2 separate regions of the Homo sapiens genome follow, and region 1 is linked to region 2. The links are contacts of gene promoters, found by promoter capture Hi-C in human tissues and cell types (Jung and others, 2019). All regions are on one chromosome and are shown on one strand. The core of a region is centred on a gene start or on the middle of the fragment in contact, and the rest is flanking DNA. Distances in the headings are between cores, read along the strand shown.

What was found. Contacts are between HindIII fragments. The study calls those that stand out against the background at their distance.
Region 1: a fragment that was not itself captured here is called in contact with the fragment with the promoter of UNCX in region 2 in 1 of the 25 tissues and cell types used here (dorsolateral prefrontal cortex).

Annotation. Positions count from the first base shown.
Region 1 is chr7:1,394,920-1,398,837 of GRCh38, forward strand. No RefSeq gene overlaps it. Among named protein-coding and RNA genes, the nearest start is that of MICALL2, 63 kb to the right of the region's middle. The HindIII fragment of the contact is 6,630 bases long and covers 1-3,918 here.
Region 2 is chr7:1,231,576-1,235,246 of GRCh38, forward strand. It overlaps UNCX (UNC homeobox), which reads left to right and starts at 1,297. Exons shown (of 3, transcript NM_001080461.3): 1 at 1,297-1,716; 2 at 1,945-2,120. The coding sequence starts at 1,443. RefSeq lists enhancers at 2,302-2,846, 3,019-3,671. The HindIII fragment of the contact is 11,886 bases long and covers 1-3,671 here.

The sequences.
Region 1 (3,918 bases), core at 794-3,293, 160 kb after region 2:
GAACCCCAGGAAGTGGAGATCATGGGGCCTCTTGGGGTCTGTCTGCCACAGGGGGCTTGCCCAGGGCCACACCTCCTGCACTGGCTTCCCAGACCCACCTGACCACAGTGGAAGTGATACGTGGGTCCACCTCCAGCCCTGCAGAATCTGCCCCCACCTGCTCCATCCACCTGAGGCCTCCTCTTTTCTTCCCAGGTGGGTGTCTGGTTATGGGGGGATTGGAGAAGGCACTTGGGGTGCAAGAACCCAGACACTCGAAGGAAGAGGCCAGGGAGGGGTGGTGCAGGCCCCAACGAGCCTGGGCTGCTGTGCCTGCCCTGCGCCACAGTCTGGAGGACCAGGACGTCAGGGGCCGCTGGGGTGGGGAGTCAGGGGGGCAATGCCCCAGTCTCAGCCCCCAGCACCCAGCGTTGTCCACACCTCCTCACAGAAAGCAGTTCCAAGCACAGCCTAATTTATTAATGAGGACGGGAGGCTGCTGATGGCAGCAAACGCTGACCAGTCCGGATCGATGGGGGCCCCGATAGCAGAGTGATTGGCCTGCCGCGTCTGGAGTCTAACTGCAGCGCCGGGCACCTTCCGAGGGGCTCGCGCTGTCTGACTGCACCCCGGAGACCGCCAGGGTTAATTGATGCAGCTGCGTGCTTCCCGCCCACAGGACTTCCGGTGGGATCCCCTGGAGGCTGCTATTAACTAAAGTGTTTAACGAAGTGCTAAAGAAGACCATTTCCAATACGCACTCCAACAGCCAGATTAAAAGAAGAACAGTGTCCCTCTCTGGGCTGTGGGACACCCCCAAATCCCTGGAAGAAGACACGGGAGCCCAGAGCTCTGCTGTTACCCATGCAGAGAAGCACCAGCCTGCAGGCTTGCCAGGCGTCACGTGGCCAGGGGGGCCCGGGGGCAGGCTCCCAGCCTCCTCTCTCAGGCTACCCCTGGGTCTGGGTCCCAGACGGGGCTCTGCTCGGGAGGGTTGGCTGCCCAGGATCCCGCCCAGTGTCGGGGGAAGTGTTCTTCAGTCCTCGGCTGAGTCTGGGGACAGCAGAGCTGGCACAACCCCTCAGCCTCACACTGCACTCTGGGCCTGCACCCCCAGTGGCCAGGCCTCCAGCCCTGGCTGCCAGACCTGCATGACCACTGAGGAAGCAGATCCCTGGACCCATCTCCAGCCCTGAGGAATCTAGACCTCCGGACCTCACATTCACATTTTTCAACTTATTTATTTGTTAAATAGCTAATGTGGTCACAAGCCTTGAGATTTTCAAAGTAGGGAAAGGTCTCTGTGTGCCCCTAAAAGAAGAAAATGCTTCTCAAAATAACCAGAAACCGGAAATGTCCAAACCTCCATGAACAGGAGAATGGGTAAATAAATTGTGCTCTAGTCACACGATGGAATACTATGCAGCAGTGAAAAAGGGCACCGGAGGGGTGCACAAACCACATAGGTGAGTCTCACAGCATAGGAGGCAGCAACTGTGCAATCCCAGTCAGGAAGTTCAGGAACAGGCAGCATTCTGACGGATAAAGTTTCCAGGAAAATGGGCATCTCAGTGTGTCGGGGGATGGGGTATTGTGGGCTGGGAGGGGCATGAGGGAGCCTGCAGGGGGCTGGCCTCGTTCCCGCTGTTGTCCAGGGGGTGGTCACCTGGCCCTGTTCACTTTGTGAAGTTCATTGTGCTGCTGAGGCTGCAGGCACTTTCTGGAATGCGCACTATATGCCAATAATGTATTCACTTGGCTTTCTTAGGGAGAGGAGGTTTACAGAGAAAAATGCTCATCCCACTCTGTCCCCAGCCACCCAGCTCCCCTCCAATAATCAATGTCCATGTCACGTTGTGCTATGGGCCCTTCCAGAGATTCCCCACCCAGCTCCCCTCCAATGGCCAATGTCCATGTCATGGTTTGCTATGGGCCCTTCCAGAGATTCCCCATACCTATGAACGCACACACACCTGCAGATATAACGAGCACCCCGGTGACCATGACGATCGGGTGAGCAGCATGGGCAACGTTGCACCCCAGATCAGCCCGAGAGCAGCCAAGGCCCCCACAGCTGCACACCATTTAGCCAGGGCCTAGCGTCACTCAGGGCCTTTGCCCATCAGTGGAGTTTTCCCAAAATATACACAAACGCATATGCACACAGTTAGCTTTTCTTTCTTTCTTTCTTTCTTTTTTTTTTTTGAGACAAAGTCTCACTGTTGCCCCAGCTGGAGTGCAGTGGCACCCTCTTGGCTCACTGCAACTTCCACTTCCCAGGTTCAAGTGATTCTCCTGCTGCAGCCTCCCGAGTAGCTGGGATTACAGGTGCGCACCACCACGCCTGGCTAATTTTTTGTATTTTTAGTAGAGAGGGAGTTTCGCCATGTTGGCCTCGAACTCCTGGTCTCAAACTCCTGACCTCGGGTGATCTGCCCACCTTGGCCTCCCAAAGGGCTGGGATTACAGACGTGAGCCATTGTGCTCAGCCCAGTTCGCTTTTTGAACTAAAGTAAAATGTTGAGCAGACATTTTCATTGTGTCAGGTTCAGCCAGTGGGAGTTTGGTATGCTAATGGCCCCAAGTGCAGACAGCAGCCATCAGTTAAAGCACCTGGGAAATGCAAATCAAAGCCACGGTGCGGTGTCACTTCCCTCCCTAAGATGGCTACAGTGAAAAAGACAGCAACAAGTGCTGGTGAGCATGTGGAGGAATCAGAATTCTCATGCCGTGCCAGCGGGAACGTGAACCACTGCAGCTGCTGCAGAAAACAGCCTGGCCATTCCTGGAAATGTTCAGGATTGTGTCACCATATGACTCAGCACTTCCAGTACTAGGTTTGAATGGAATTGGGACCATACGGCCACAGAAAAACGTGTACCTGAATGTTCACGGCAGCACTATTCACAAGAGCTAAAAGGTGGGAGCGACCCAGGTGTCCATCTGGGGATGAATATGGATAAACACAAGGTGGTAGATCCACAGAGTGGAATATTACTGAGCCATGAAAAGGAATGGAGCTCTGATACATGCCACAGCCTGGGTGAACCTTGGAAACATTACACAAAGTGAAAGAACACGGACACAAAAGACCACATATTGAATGCTCCCATTTATGTGAAATTTCCAAATAGGCAAATCTACAGAGACAGAAGGTAGAATGATGTTGCCAAGGGGAGGGGAGAGGTAGAAATGGACAGTAACTGCTCAATGGGCATGAGGTTTATTTTAGAGGAGATAAAAATGTTTTGAAATTAGACAGTGATGATGGTTGCACAACTCTGTGGATATACTAAAAAAAAAAAAAAATACTGGGGCTGGGTGTGGTGATTCATGCCTATAATCCCAGCACTTTGGGAGGCCAAGGCAGGCGAATTGCTTGAACCCAAGTGTTCAAGACCAGCCTGGGTAACATAGCGAGATGACATCTCTAAAAAAAAAAATACAAAGATTAGCCGGGTGCGGTGGTGCGTGCCTGTATTACCAGCACTTTGAGAGGCTGAGGAAGGCAGATTGCTTGAGCCTGGGAGTTCAAGATCAGCCTCAGCAACATGGCAAAACCCTGTCTGTACAAAAAATACAAAAATTAGCTGGGCATGGTGGTAGCATGCATCTGTAGTCCCAGCTGCTCGGAAGGCTAAAGTGGAAGGATCGCCTGAGCCCTGGAGGTTAAGGCTGCAGTGAGGTATGATTGCACCACTGCACTCCAGCCTGGGCTACAGAGAGACCTTGACTCAAAAAAAAAAAATCACCAAATTATACATTCTAAAAGAGTGAGTGGGGCCGGGCACAGTAGCTCACACCTGTAATCTCAGCACTTTGGGAGGCTAAGGTGGGCAGATCACTTGAGGTCAGGAGTTCAAGACCAGCTTGAGCAATATGCCGAAACCCCGTCTCTACAAAAACTACAAACATTAGCCGGGCATGGTGGTGCGTGCC
Region 2 (3,671 bases), core at 47-2,546:
TTTGCCCTGGGGTGGTGGTGGCTCCGCAGACTGGCCCAGCCCAGGCCGGAGCTCTCCTCCTCTCTTCCCCGCCCTGGGCTGGCCGAGGCTCGGGGCACTCACTGCTGGAGAGGTGGCCCTAACCCAACTAGTCCAGCACTGGGGTCCCGCAGCCAAATGCGACCACCCCACTGACAAACTTTTTTACAAAGGAGAGAGATGGACCGACATCCCCTCATTTCTTTCCTTGCTGCCCACAATCCTGATTTGCTGCTTATTTAAGAATATATCCTTTAGTGATTTAGCTTTGAGTCTATCAATATTTTATAGCAGAGAAGGGAGTGACACTTCTCTGAGAACATAATTTAATTATAATAAATGGGTTGGGTGCTTCAGCCCCATCCTTCAGAGGCCGAGTCAGAGCGGATGTATTTATCTTTATTCGAGCGTGTAAGGGGGTGGGGGCGGATCGGCCCCACCCCAAAGTTACTTTTCCCCTCCTGTCCCCATCCCTCTCTCCTCCTCTGCGCCCGGGCTTTATGGGGATGGGGGTCGGGGAGCCTCCGCAGCCCCCCCCACCTCTGTCTTTGTAGATAGGGCGACTGCCAGTCAATCAGAGAGGGCATTAGTTACGCCTCTTTATTGACAGGGTGCTACATTCTGTAGTTCTTCTCTTTCGGGATCGCCCTCCTCCTCCTCCTCCTCCTCCTTCCTCCTCTCCCGCCGCCTGCAGCCGGAGAGGAGGAGATGAGAAGCCTTGTAGTTTTAAATTCAATGTGACAGTTTCGGAAAAGCGGATGATGAATCTCCTATTATTGGATCAGTCTATTTGCCGCTCAATGTCTCTCTGTAATTGGAGCAACATCACTTTAAAGGTTCAGAGAGTACAGCATTTCTGGTGAAAAATCCCCACAACACGGCGCTGAATGTTTTAAAGGGAAATCTATTAGTGATTTGCGGAGGGGCGGGGAGGCGGCGGCTGGCGGGAGGCGCGGGCTCGGGGCCGGCCCCGAGTGAAGTGGGGGGCTAGCTGGGGGCCCCTGCCCCGGGCCCAGGCACCAGCCCGCGCCTGCCCGGCCCTGGGCGGCCCCTCCCTCCCTCCCTCCCTCCCTCCGGCTCCCCCCGCCCCCAGCCCGTCTTGTTGTGACAGTTCCTGATACTGTTTATTGAGGTGCATGTCAGGTATAATTAGCAATCGATATGGAAAACGTTTCCCTGCACCCAGCACGCCTCTGACGTCAGAGCCGATTAGCGCTTCTTATTGGTCCCAAATTCCCCGGGCCGCGGCTAATTATCGGGAGCTTGATGTTGATAAGTAAAGCGCCGGAGTGCGGGCGAAGCATGTGTGGGGCTCCGGGTCCCTGTCTCCGCCGCCGCCGCCCGCGCCTCCCGCCGCTGGCCCGCCCCGGCCCCGGCCCGCGCCCCCGCGCCCCGCCACCGGCCCCGCCGGCCCCCCGCGCGAGATGATGGACGGCCGCCTCCTGGAACACCCGCATGCCCAGTTCGGGGGCTCGCTGGGCGGCGTGGTGGGCTTCCCCTACCCGCTGGGCCACCACCACGTGTACGAGCTGGCCGGGCACCAGCTGCAGTCGGCCGCCGCCGCCGCCTCGGTGCCCTTCTCCATCGACGGCCTGCTCGGGGGCTCGTGCGCCGCCGCCGCCTCGGTGGTCAACCCCACGCCGCTGCTGCCAGCCGCCTGCGGGGTCGGCGGGGACGGCCAGCCCTTCAAGCTGTCAGGTAGGCGCGGCGGGCGGGAGGGCGGGGAGGAGTGCGGCTGGGGGCGGGGGCCCTGGTCCGGCCGAGGCGCTGGGGGGCCCGGGGCTGGCGAAGGAGAGCCGGCTCCTAGGCGGCCGTCTCTGCGCCCCCCCCCCCGGATCCAGGCGGCCAGCGGGTAGCGGGAGGGAGGGGTGGGGGTCGGGCCTGGGCCGGTGGCTGAGCCGCGCTGCGTCCTGTGACTGCCCGCAGACTCGGGGGACCCGGACAAGGAGAGCCCGGGCTGCAAGCGGCGGCGCACCCGCACCAACTTCACCGGCTGGCAGCTGGAGGAGCTGGAGAAGGCGTTCAACGAGAGCCACTATCCCGACGTGTTCATGCGCGAGGCGCTGGCGCTGCGCCTAGACCTGGTCGAGTCCCGAGTTCAGGTAAAGACCCGGCGTCGCTCCCGGATCTGCCATCCGGACCCCAGGCTCTGGGCGCGCCGGGACGCCTTTGTTCCAGGTGGCGAGATATCGTCCCCTTGCCGCGGGCCCGCTTCGCGCTCGCCTGCTGGGGAAGAGTGGAGGGGTGGGGGTTCTGGGGCTCGGCCCCTCACGGACAGCGGGGTGGGTAACTGCCCCCCAAAAGCCTGGGCGGCTTGAGAAGGGCCGGCGGCAGCACCCGAGTCACCAGAACAGCGGCTGCGTCCGAACCGGGAAGCGGCGTGGTGGGTTGGCGGAGGCCGGGCCAAGTGAGGTCTCCAGGCAGGGGCGAGGAGGGGAGGAGGGGCCGGCTTGGCTCCGACCCGGAGGAGAGAGGGAAGGGGACCCCCCCCCGCCCCCGCACCGCCTCAACCTTCCGCGCGAGGCTCTGTCACCCAGCCTGGAGCGAACGAGTCTGTTTACCTTGCGCCTGCAAAATATTCAGATGGAAACATGTATTTATTCATCGCTTTGCAGAAGGGAACAGCTGAGGAAGGGGAGGCAGAAGCTTAAACAGTTAACACATTGAGAAAGTGGGAGAAAAAAAGGTGTCTGAATTTTTAATAATAACCCCGGTCTCATCTTTTTCTTACGACTGTTTTCCCGTAAATTTGCTATCATTTGGAGATGGCTGATGGTATTGTTTTAAAAATACAGTGTCAGCTTGGTGGATTAAAAATTCCAAGATGATTTGTGCATAATTAAATGTTTCCCTGGAGCAAAGAAATCCTCTTTTTCTGCGGTGGGTGCGGTGTGGGGTCCAGGTCTGTGGTGCGGTGTGCGGTTGTGGGTGCTAGGCGTTGAGGCAGACGCTGGCAAAACGCCTGTTTATCACCAATAGCTTTGTCTAAAAAGGTGTGTTTGTCCTGCGCTTGGACCTCCTCTCATGACCTCTTCTGCTTGGAAATCCTTTCATCCAATTTGTTCTAAGTGTCTTAAGTGAAGTCAAGACCCCTCCATGTCTCCCCTAATACGATAATGACTAATTCTTACAGGCAAGGCAGTCCGGAATTCGCACCAAAAAAAAAAAAAAAAAAAGTTTAAAGAAGGAAAAGGCGGTTACAGCGTTGGGGGAGGGCTCGGCTTCATGCTGGAGACCTCCCCATGGACAAGGCTCCCTGCGACAAGGCTGGGCCTGCTATTGTGCAAGTCTCTGTGTGGCCGCGACAAAGAATCCGTATTAACGCGCCCTCCTGGGGAGGGCAGGACTGCCCGAGCTTCCGCGGGGCTCAGACGGATTTGACTGTGTGTGTTTGGTGGCTGGCGGTTGAGTGAGGGTGTAGCGCTGCCGTCCCCGGATGTCCTGTGTGGCTCCCCAGGACAAGGACTGCAGAGAGGATGGAAGAGACGCGATGGGCCCAGCCTCTCCTTCCGGCCTGGTGGTCGCCTCTTGCCTCCCCACCTGCCTTGGCCGGTGGCCCAGGCCAAGGACCGCAGGTTTGGGAAGGCTCCGTTGGCGCCCTGGCCCAGGGTTTGCGGAAAGAAGGCTGTGTTAGCTGTGCCCTGGGAGGGAGG